2 separate regions of the Homo sapiens genome follow, and region 1 is linked to region 2. The links are contacts of gene promoters, found by promoter capture Hi-C in blood cells and fetal thymus (Javierre and others, 2016). All regions are on one chromosome and are shown on one strand. Each heading gives the region's core, a stretch centred on a gene start or on the middle of the fragment in contact. The rest is flanking DNA. Distances are from core to core; before and after follow the strand shown.

Region 1 (5,904 bases), core at 387-2,886, 860 kb before region 2:
AAGCAGATTAGTCATAATGACTACTTTCCATTCCTTTCCTAATAGTCTCTTCTAAAAAGCACTTTAGGTAACTCTGCTTGATGAAAAAAAAATTGAGCAGCAGTTCCGTTTTTTTTAATGGGAACTTTTATGTCAAGTATAGAAGCTGCACTGACATCTCACATGAAAACCATCCCATCACTCAGCAAGAGGCACTCCATTTTGGATGGATTCTTGATTTACTTTCTGTGAATCTAAGTTCATGGATTTTCTGCTCTTGCTAACGCAATACTATTAAAATGTCAGAACACAGTTTCCTGGAGCAAGAGTCTTATATAGTTTTCAACTCTTAATGAGAGGCATCAGCCAAGTTTTTAAAATCTTGACTTGAATCATGCTTAATGCTATTTGTTAACTAGTGTGAAAAGGTTTCTATGTGTTAAAGTGGTAATGTTCTACCAAGGTAAATGATGTTCTGGGGCATGATATTCTATCTGGTTGCTTGCTTTCTATCCCTATTCGACTTTTTTACAAAAATTCAATGGAGGGGACATAGTCCTACTTTATAATGTTAAGAAGCGTTTTTACTTTAAGTTCGCTCAAATTAAGAAAAGACACAGGGCCGGGTGCTGTGGCTTATGCCTGTAATCCCAGCACTTTGGGAGGCTGAAGCGGGTGGATCATGAGGTCAGGAGATCGAGACCATCCTGGCTAACACAGTGAAACCCCGTCTCTACTAAAAATACAAAAATTAGCTGGGCGTGCTGGCAGGCACCTGTAAACCCAGCTACTCAGGAGGCTGAGGCAGGAGAATCACTTGAACCCGGGAGGCAAAGGCTGCAGTGAGCCGAGATAATGCCACTGCACTCCAGCCTGGGCAACAGAGCGAGACTCCGTTTCAAAAAAAAAAAAAAAAGGAAAGAAAAGAAAGAAAAGATACAAAGCCTCCTCTTGAACTGTTTTCTCAACTACTTGATCATCTGTGATCTGTGTCTCTTCTGGGAAGGACGGACAGGCAAAGCAGGGTCCAGTGTTCATGTGCTGAACGTAACTTGCCCTAACAGCACAAGAAGCCCAAGGGCTTGTTTTCTGTGTGAGTCAAGGAAACACCTGCTACCTCCTGAGACAAGCCCAATCCACGGGTATTGGCAAGGAAAGGTATGCAGGCCTTGCACAGAGATACTGAAATTGCTTTTGTTTCCTTCCTTCCTAATTTTGTCTCTGTAGATGTCTCACTGTTTCCATGGGTTTATTCATTTCTATCACCACCACTACCCCCACTTTTTTTTACAGTTGTGTATTCAAGCAGAGAAAATGAGTTTAAAAAAACAATTATGATAGTGAAAAAAAGAACAGATTCAAAACTGCCATATATGTGAGGCCCATGGGAGTCCCTGATTAATTTTCATTTTTATCATTTAGTTCTGAGATTGGCCTATTTTGGTAAATGTGAGAGCAAGTGTGGTTATGGACTTGATTACCTTGCAACCTTAAAAACAAATAAACCAGCTTGAGTCTTTTTCTTACCATGGTGGGTTCCTGTTAGGCAAGAACTGCAACTCCATGAGCAAGTTGTCCCAACACCACAGGGGCAGACCTTCATCACATAGCAACTCCCAAAATGGGAATTGGAGTGGATTTTAGAACACAGTCAGCTAACATTGAGAACATCATGGTTGTAGGCAAAACTTTCCGTTCCTCTATTTGTCTCTCTGCTCCGTTCTTGGGTCCATATTCTCCTACACATTTTGGATGCTTGAAATACTGATTCTGAAAGAATAATCAATTAGCAAATAGTTACAAGGAGTAGGACACTCAAGGAGTCTAGTTGAAAACAAAGGACCAGCATGATAATTGTACAAAAAGTACTTGTAGAAATTCAAAAGTGGAAAAAACGCTATATATTGGGAAAGATTAGGAAAAGTTACACATAGAACAGCAAGGTGAGCTGAGCCTTAAGTAGGTAGGAAGGTTGGATGAGACTCAGCAGGGTAGACGGGAGAAGCCATGGCATTTGTGGAGTACAAGTTGACAGAGGCAAGGAGGTAGGTTTGGTCAGGTGTGTTAAGGAGACAGTGAGTCTGGTCAGAAAGGAGTTTTCAAGGAGTGGAAATGGCGCCTAAGGGCAGCATATTGTTAGGAACCAGTTTATTGAAAGAAAGCCTCCAAGTGCAGTGGCTCCCACCTGTAATCCCAGCAATTTGGGAGGCCAAGGTGGGCAAATCACTTGAGCTCAAGAGTTTGAGACCAGCCTGGGCAACACAGCAAAACCTCATCTCTACAAAAAGTACAAAAATTAGCCACACGTAGTGACATGCACCTGTAGTTACTTAGGGGGTTGAGGCAGGAGGATCGTTTGCACCCAGGAGGTTGAAGTTGCAGTGAGCCATGATTGTGCCACTGCACTCCAGCTTGGGTGACAAAATGAAAAACAGAAAGAAAGAAGGAAGGAAAGAAAGAAAGAGAGAGAGAGAAAGAAAGAGAGAGAGAGAGAAAAAAGAAAGCCTAGGGGATTTGGATTTCATCCTATAGGCAATAGAAAGTCACGGACATTTTTGGGCAGGAGACAGGCATGGAGGAAGAGAGCTCTAAAGATGACTAATCTGATGCTAATCACCAAAACCAGTGTCAGGAGGCTCCCACACAGTCCAGCTGTGAGGCCATGAAGCCTGAGAGACTGGGATCTGCCCACTGCCAAGAATTCTGGAGGCTGCCCAGGGTCCCCTTGGGAAACACCTTGCAGAGAAAGCCTTTCCCTTTCTCTAAAAATCTCCAAATTCTAATCCCCTACTTTGCCCTTGACAGTCTGGTCGACTATGCTGTACTAAGATGTTAAGAGCAGATTATAACTTAAAGTAGGTACAAGAGAACACAAAATTGCACAGGGAGGAGAAATATTAAGAAGCAGGCTCACTATGAGAAATAACTTTTCATAGAAGCCTTCAGAACATATCTAGTAACATCTAGTTTTCAATAGCAAGAAACAAAAAAACAATTCGAGTGTTCTGGGATGGGGGAAGTTTCACAAGATGCCATTTACTTCAAATTTTTCTTCAAGTGGTGTCATTGGGTTGTGGTTGGTGGCTATGACACCAAGAGAAAGCAAGTTAACTTGGATTAAGTCTCTTTTCTGCTTTCCAAATTACATAGATTTCTCAGGGTCTTTGCCTTCCCCACATCTGGACTCCAGGAATGAATCATTTAAGGAGGCACCCCCGGACAGGAGTTTCTGTTCTCTACAGTTGTTCTAATGTGCACTCTGTACTTCGACTGCCTGTCAGACAAATCAGGGAAGAAAGCAGGAGTCTCTAAAGCAGTCATGCAAATTTCCCCAGGCTTACAGTCTCAAAGAAATTGGGCCTGGCCAAAATGACCTCAGGCATCCACTGAGGAGAAGAACTTGCTTCTAAGAACTTCTCTCCAGCCTTCCATGTTTCCTTCCATGACAGGCATCTGTGGGGTGACAATTAGGTGTGGTGGGTGGGCATTTCTGTGGGCTGGCAGCCTATTTTAACTTCCAACTGTGGGAGTAAGCTTTAACTCTGTGCTAAAATTAGGGGAATCCAGTAACTCCTGTGGTTATTTCAATCAGTTCCCACTTATTGAGTAGCAGCGGCACAGTTAAGTAATAACATGGTAACCTTGCCAAGACATAAATGAAATGCTGAGTGTTGCCCAGTTGGAGCTGAAATCGCTTCAATGATCTAAGCTGAGAGCCAAACCAACAAAAGGGCTGCTGGCCTCTGGGGGTGGGGGAAACTGGGGACATGGAACAGAATTCCCAGAGCAGCTCCTCGGATGCTGGGGGCAGATTTAAGGGAGTGGGCACTGATTGGCCTGGCAATCCAAACTTCACTACAGAAATGCCAACAGCCCCAGGGGTCAGAAAGGCTCAGTTTGCTCTCCCTCCAAGAGAAGGCACGTGGGCTCTGCCAGAGGAGCCCACTGCCAGACCCAGGGCTCCTGGAAAGACCTTGGCCCCTGGTGCTTGAGTTCACACCGTGGCAATGAATGTAATCATGATCCAGAGAAGCAGCTCCTAAGCCACACTATGGAGAACATTGTTCTGATTGGCTCTGCTATGAGAGGATGGTTTTCTCTAGCTGAGAGAGACAGAGGTGCCATGCCAGCTCCCAGTTCAGACCGGCAGGTGCGGTCAAGAGAAGATCAAAAGAAGGAGAAGGGCAGAATCTTGAAGAAAGGTTCTAGCCAGGATGCTTAGGGTACCAAAGGGCCAACAAGCCCTAAGTCATCCCCCTTGGGTTGGGGTTAGAGCTGGGGGAGGGACCTGCAGTGACGGAGGTCATTGATAACTGTAGATTGAGCATGCAAGTTTTCAGTTCATGCAGGACTCTTTAGCTCCCCTTCCCCACTCTTCTGAAAGTCTTAGCCATTTTACTCTGATGGTTAAGTGGACCTGAGTTCAAGTCCAGTGTGCACTCCAGGAGTCAGGGCCTACACAAGGCCAGGAATGCCAGGAGACAGGATTGTTGGTGACCATCTCAGAAGTCTGCCTGCCACACATTATGATCATTTAGCCCAGGGGTAGCCAATCTTTTGGCTCCCCCTGGGCCACATTGGAAGAAGAATTCTCTTGGGCCACACATAAAATACACTAACACCAATGAAAGCTGATAAGCTAATAAAAAAAATGACGGAAAAATCTCATTATGTTTTAAGAAAGTTTATGAATTTGTGTTGGGCCGCATTCAAAGCTGTCCTGGGCTGCCTGCGGGCTGTGGGCCATGGCTTGGCCAAGCTTGATTCAGCCTGAGAACCGAGTGAGCATCAGAGGAGAAGGAAAAAGGAAACCTGTCCACAGCACTACCTGTTTTACAGTGGCTGTCAACTCTGGCTGCACTTTAGAATTACTTAAGAGCTTTTTAAAAATACCTATATCTGGGCCCCACACCACATATTCTAATTTAACTAGTCTCAAGTGGGTGCTAGGCTCCCTCCCCATGTGATTCCAATGAGCAGCAGGCCAGGCAAATACTGATTTCATCTTTCTAGCAAAGGTTAGGTAAGGAAGGGGATTTAAGCTTTGACTAACACAAAGGATGAACATAAACTCTGAGGGGTTTCCAGGTGGAAAGGCATGTTAAAAGTCACCAGACAGATCCTGCTCCTCTTGACCTGAGAACACCATCCCTGACACCATCACCTCCACACCATCCCCGACAAGGAGAGACACCTTGACCTCTGCACCCCCTTCTCCCCCACGCACACTCGTGGCCAGGCAGTTCACAGTGGGACACAGCTGACTGCTCAAAGGTTACCTTATGTTGAGCTGATTTCAATGATCTCTTCTATTCTTATTCCCATCCTTTGAGTTTTAGTAGAAAGACATAAAGAAAATTCCACATGATGTTGTTTAAAAAAAAAAATCTGAGCACCAGCTGTGTTACTGGATTGAAGGTTTGGCCCTGTTGTACTTTCAAATAACGATGATGCCTGCCCAAGTCAGAGGGACAGGTCTCAGCAGCTGTGAAGCTCATCTCCTCTCTCTGCCCCTGGAAACTCACCTGCCTGGTGTCCTAACTTGTCTACACTACAGCATCTCTCATCTTTTAACAGTACCAGGGGGTTAAGAGCTTAACGGGTTTCCTTGACTTTTGTTTTAACAATTACCTTCACTGCCTTACACTAAACTTGAGGCTATATAAAAAAGTCGCTTTTATATCATTAATTAAGTAATGTTTTCATTTTACAAATTTTTTTTTTTTTTTGAGATGGAGTCTTGCTCTGTTGCCCAGGCTGGAATGCAGTGGCGTGATCTCGGCTCACTGCAAACTCTGCCTCCCAGGTTCACACCATTCTCCTGCCTCAGCCTCCCGAGTAGCTGGGACTAGAGGCGCCCGCCACCACGCCCAGCTAACTTTTTATATTTTTAGTAGAGACGGGGTTTCACCGTGTTAGCCAGGA
Region 2 (5,385 bases), core at 2,493-4,992:
ATCCCAAGCATTGTGACTCTCAGTAAAGTATAAGAATCACTGGTAAAAGTTAAATCCATATGATACTGACATAGAGTAAGAAGTTGACAGGGTTCAATTTTCTCTTAAAGAATAAAATATAGTGAAAAAAATTGTAATTATTCACAAGGGTTATCGTTGCCTCAAGAGAATACCAGAGGCACTCTACAAATTACTAATAATTTAGTAAAGACAAAGGATTTACAACCATTAAACAAAAATTAGCGTTCTTATATTTACATTTAGAAAATGTAATTTAAAAATACATATACCAGGCCAGGCACGGTGGTTTACACCTGTAATCCCAGCACTTTGGGAGGCTGAAGAAGGAGGTTCTTGAGACCAGGAGTTTGAGACCAGTCTGGGAAACATAGCAAGATCCCGTCTCTACAAAAAATTAAAAAATTAGCCCCCCATGGTGGTGCATGCCTGTAGTCCTAGCTTCTCTGATGCTGAGGCTGGAAGATCGCTTGAGCCCAGAAGTTCAAGGCTGCAGTGAGCTATGATTGTGTCACTGCACTGTAGCCTGGGCAACAGAGTGAGACCCTGTCTTAAAAAAAAAAAACGTTGATAGTAGTGGCAATAATTATAAGGTTCCTAAGAATAAGCATAATAAAATATGTGAAAGACCAACTATGGAGATATATGTTCATGGATGGGTCACCTCAATATCATAAAGATGACAGGTTATCCCTAAATAACTTTAAGACAATTAAAATAAAAATCCTGCCATAGCTTTTCATTGAAAACAAGAAAGAAAGCTTCTTTTCACATTTACATAAAATAGTAAAAGTAAAAGAAAATATAAGGCAGGACACATAGACAGTGGAATGGAATCAAGAGCCTAAACACAGAACCCCGTGTGTGAGAATTTAGCAAATGGGGAAAGGAGGGATAATCTCTTCTCTATTCTCACTCTTGGTGCTCTTAGCCATTCTCATGCCTTTCAGTGTCATCTGGAAACTGACTACATCCAGATTTATATTGCTAGCCCAGACCTCTCTTTCTTGACCTCCAGACTAGTGTAATCAACTACCTACTTGACATTCATTCCCATTTAGATAGGTAACAGGTATCTCAAATTAAAGCAATGCCAAACAACTCCTGACCTGCCCTTCTCCCTACATTTTTCTTTCACAGTTTTTTTTTCTTTCAGTAAATGGCATTTTTTTTCTTCGAGTTACCCAAGGCAAACACCCTGGAGTCATCCTTGACCTCTTTTTTCTCTCTCTCATAGCCCATATCAAATTCTCAGGAAATCCTGTTAATATTACCTTCAGAATGTATTTTTTTAAATCTTCTTTCACTACTACCAACTTGGTCAAAGCCACCTTTATCTCTCATCTGGATTTCCCAAGAGCCTCCTGATCATCGTCTTACTTCTGTCCTTCTTCTCTGCCTCCATACCCCATGCCCTATTCTCAAAAAAGTTGCCAAAATACTCTTGAAAATGTCAAAGTATGACAGTTTTTTACTCAAAATGCTTCCTTAACTCTTTGACCTCATTTCTTACTGTCCTCACTCACTGAAATTCATCTGACATCTCCCCTTTGCTGGTCTATGAATGGAATATCCCACACCACACCCCCAGAGCTTTTAGCCTTGCCATTCCCTTTGAGTGGAATGCTGTTACTGGATAGGCACACAGGTGTGTCACCTTACCTGTTCAAAATCTGGGCTGAAATGCCTGCTTCCACTGGGGCCTTCCCTAACCACTTTAACATTTAACACAACTCCCCACCTCCAAAAGTCTCCATCCCCTTCCCTTCTTTATTTTTCTTCATAGCACTTATCAAACCCTGAACATCACATTTTTTTTCTTTTTTTTCCTCTTTTTTTTTTTTGAGACAGAGTCTAGCTCTGTCGCCCAGGCTGGAGGAGTGCAGTGGCGAGATCTCTGCTCACTGCAACCTCTGTCTCCCAGGTTCAAGCGACTCTCCTGCCTCAGCCTCCCAAGTCGTTGGGACTACAGGCACGCACCACCACACTCGGCTAATTTTTGTATTTTTAGTAGAGACGGCGTTTCACTGTATTGCACAGTCTGGTCTCGAACTCCTGACCTCACGATCTGCCCGCCTCGGCCTCCCAAAGTGCTGGGATTACAAGCGTGAGCCACTGCGCCTGGCTGAACACTACATTTTTTTTACTTCTTTATTCATGTATTGTCTGTCATCTCCAACTAGAATGAACGTATAGTCCCTGAGAACGGGGAATTTGTTATCTATTGAAACTTCAGGGCCTGGAACATAGCAGCACTCCAGTATTTGTTAAATAAATGAATCCATTTGAGCTTCTGCATATTTGAAATTTCATAAGTATATATAAATGGTAAATTGTGATAGACTCAAAGGCTAGTATCATTAGGCAATTGTCTCCCGTTCCCAAAAGACTTCCTAAGTCTACTAAATGATCTGTTTTTAATATGAAAGCAAAGTTATCTAAAAGAAAGGAGAAATCTTTAGTTTTTTTGACTTCGAGATTCTTTGCAATTTAAGCTTTTTTTTTTTTTTTTTTTTTTTTTTTTGCTTTTCTTTCAATGGACACTTTCGAAGTTTTACATAAAAACATTAAAACCTCTTGTTTAATGTAGTGGGATTAAGCTGCCGAAGGCAATCCCTACATGTGAGGAAAATATGCTTCCGACACCCCAATTTTTTTTTTCTCCCTACCCATCCTCTCTGGTGGTCCTGACGCTCCCAGCCCCTTTTTGTGTTTCTTGATTCCATGCTGAGAACTCGCAATACAAACTCAAAGCCCACATTTGTGAGGTGGTTGGGTCAGGACTGCAACTAAAAATGATTATTGTTTTTTAGGTTTCTGGACAGTTCAACACCAGCCTTTGGTTTTGCCTCAGAAGCAGGGAACTTCTCTAGGCCCCTATTTTGCCTTTCAGCTATTGATGATCCAAATCATACCAGCGATTAGGAGGATCATTACCAGACACAAGGCCAGGTACGTTTAAAAAATAAATAAACCAAGCGCAGGTGCACACTCCGAACGCTCATCCCCACCCCCACTTTCCAATCCAACAGTAGGTAACGAGAAATGAATTTTCTAGACTTTTTTTCCTGCAGCAGTTGCTGTTACCAGAAACAAAGTTAGATGATATACAATCTAATCTTCATTGCTCTAAAAGTCCTCTCCCCATGCCCCCCAGGCTGCCTCAATTCTCTAGTTTCTTATTCCTTATAAGCAGGGGATGGAGCTGAACCAAGTCGGCCTTCCCCTCCCAGGGCCTTCTCCTCTTGGTCTGGCTTCCATTTCAGATGCGAATTAACCCTCCCAATACCCTTTCAGAAGCAAGGAGTCCCCTTTTTCTCCGCCTCCAGCCTCAGCTAGGTTTTCCTCATTTCGGATTTTTCTACTGCTCATTCCCAAATGAGTCACGCATGACGACAATTTCCACTCTGCTATGTCAGCCTGGAGATGTCCCCCAAGTGATGGCATCTGCTCTCGGAAAGAAAGGTCATCGGTGCCACGACCAGCCCCGCTAACCCAGAGCGGCCGGTGGGCCCCAGTCCCGAGAGTCAGGGCGCGCGGCGGAGGCGAGGCCGGGGCGGCCTCCGCCCTCCCGGCCGCTCCCCCTCGCGCCGCCCCGGCTCCTCCCTCCGGCCCTCGGCGGGCACCTGGCGGCGGCGGGCAGGGGGCGGCGCTGCGCGCGTCACGCGGCTGGGTGGGATAGCGGGCAGGTGACACCCGGCGGCCTCCTCCCCTTTCCAACCCAGTCGGCGGCCGGGACAGCGGGGGCCGCTGTGAGGAGCTCCGCGCTCGCGCTGCCAGTCGCCGCCCTCTCTCCCGCGCGCGCCCGGCGCTTCGGCTCCGCTCCCTGTGCGGTGAGTGCGGGGTTCCAGGCCGGCGGGCAGGGGCCAAACTTTCCCGGCGCGCGGAGGAGAAGAGACTGGGGAGGGAGGCAGAGCCGAGGGGAACGGCGTCGGGAGTGGCCGGATGGAGGAACTTGGGCGCGGCGCGCGAGAAGTGGGACCCGGGTGCGGGGGCCCCGGGAGCGGGGCCAGGCCCTCCCTGGGCTCGGGAGGCGCTTGGGAAGTTCTGTCCCCGCTGCCTGCGCGTGGGGAGGACCGAGGCCCTTTTCGCCGGAGCGCGGGGCCGCGGCGCTCACCTGCGCCTTCTCGGGAGCCCCCACCCGGCAGCATCCCGAAGGGAAGGTCGGGCCCGGTGGGCGCGCTGCGGAGCGGAGCCTGGACTGGGGTCCCGCGCGGCGCTGGCCCTGCGGAGCGGAGCGGGAGGGGCAGAGGTGCTCGCCGGCGGGACTGGGAGGGAGAAGGACCTGCTCGACCTTGGACGCGGAGGTCATTTTCCCAGCTCCGGGGTCTGGCCTCGCTAGCCACCCCCCCAAATTCCGGAGCCCCTTTCTTTCTGTTTCCTTCCTTCCCCTTTGGGCGCTTTTTTTGCTCCCGCGGCCAGATGAACTTGGGGCGCTGTCCCTTCGGCTCCCCGAGCCGCATCCTGTCTTGGTGGCTGCTGCTGGCCGGGAGGAGGCTGATGAATACAGAGCCGTGGAACAGGTCGTGCCGGAGATGGAAACAGGAAAGCCTGTTGTTTTGTCGTCCCAGGTATCGTTGGTTCTTTGGGAAATGGGCTTTCCCAGGTTCGTTGGGAAATGGGCTTTCCCAGGTTCGTTGGGAAATGGGCTTTCCCCCTTCAAGTCAGAGCTGTTTCAAACTTCACCCGGTGCGGACAGAGCGCTCTTTGGAGCTCCCTGGGGAACTCGGGACGGGAAGGAGCGGGTCTTTACACCTGTCCTGCTCCCAGTGTAGTTAGTCCCGCGTCGACTGAAGAACAGTTTTAGCGACCCGAGTTCCTCGCCAGTGGTCTTTTCCCTCTTGCTACGATCTCCCCTCGGAAAGCATGTTCACTTAACCCTGTGCTCTCGGATTACCCTTTATTTCATTCCTCACTTTTATTGCTTACGTGCTCCGAAAGGGTCATCGATACCTGGTGGCTGCCTCTGCGTTCTTACCACGCACCCGCTTATTCATTCCCTTTCTTTGTAGTTTCTCTTCGTACTACTGATCAGAAATTGGTCTCCCCAAGGTCACCGAGAACTAAATAAAATCCACCCCTCACCCCGTGGCAGACATTTATCAGTGCTTAGGTGCCAGGCACTGATGTCAGTTCTTGTGTAAAAGCTTTTAATCTTCACAACGATCCTGGGAAGTAGATATTAATATTATTCTCATTTTAATGATGAGGTAACTGAGGCACGGAGAGGTTAAGTAACTTGCCCAAGGCCACACCCATCTCAGCGGTAGGAGATTCCAGCTCTGGGGTTCTGTCTCCAGCACTGGAGCTGTTAACCACTGTCCTACACTGCCTCACCTAGAGTTCGTTTGCTCGTCCTTATTTTCT

The links. The method cuts DNA at HindIII sites, captures the fragments that hold promoters and counts their contacts. A CHiCAGO score of 5 or more calls a contact.
Region 1: a fragment that was not itself captured here is called in contact with the fragment with the promoter of ELOVL7 in region 2 in 1 of 17 cell types (total CD8 T cells); the score reaches 5.0 in total CD8 T cells.

Annotation. Positions count from the first base shown.
Region 1 is chr5:61,699,711-61,705,614 of GRCh38, reverse strand. The region is part of intron 1 of LINC03122 (long intergenic non-protein coding RNA 3122); the gene reads right to left. Among named protein-coding and RNA genes, the nearest start is that of LINC03152, 4.2 kb to the right of the region's middle. The HindIII fragment of the contact is 3,758 bases long and covers 1-3,515 here.
Region 2 is chr5:60,842,626-60,848,010 of GRCh38, reverse strand. It overlaps ELOVL7 (ELOVL fatty acid elongase 7), which reads left to right and starts at 3,742. Exons shown (of 9, transcript NM_024930.3): 1 at 3,742-3,851. RefSeq lists silencers at 3,521-3,820, 3,841-4,000, 4,011-4,070. The HindIII fragment of the contact is 2,652 bases long and covers 2,516-5,167 here.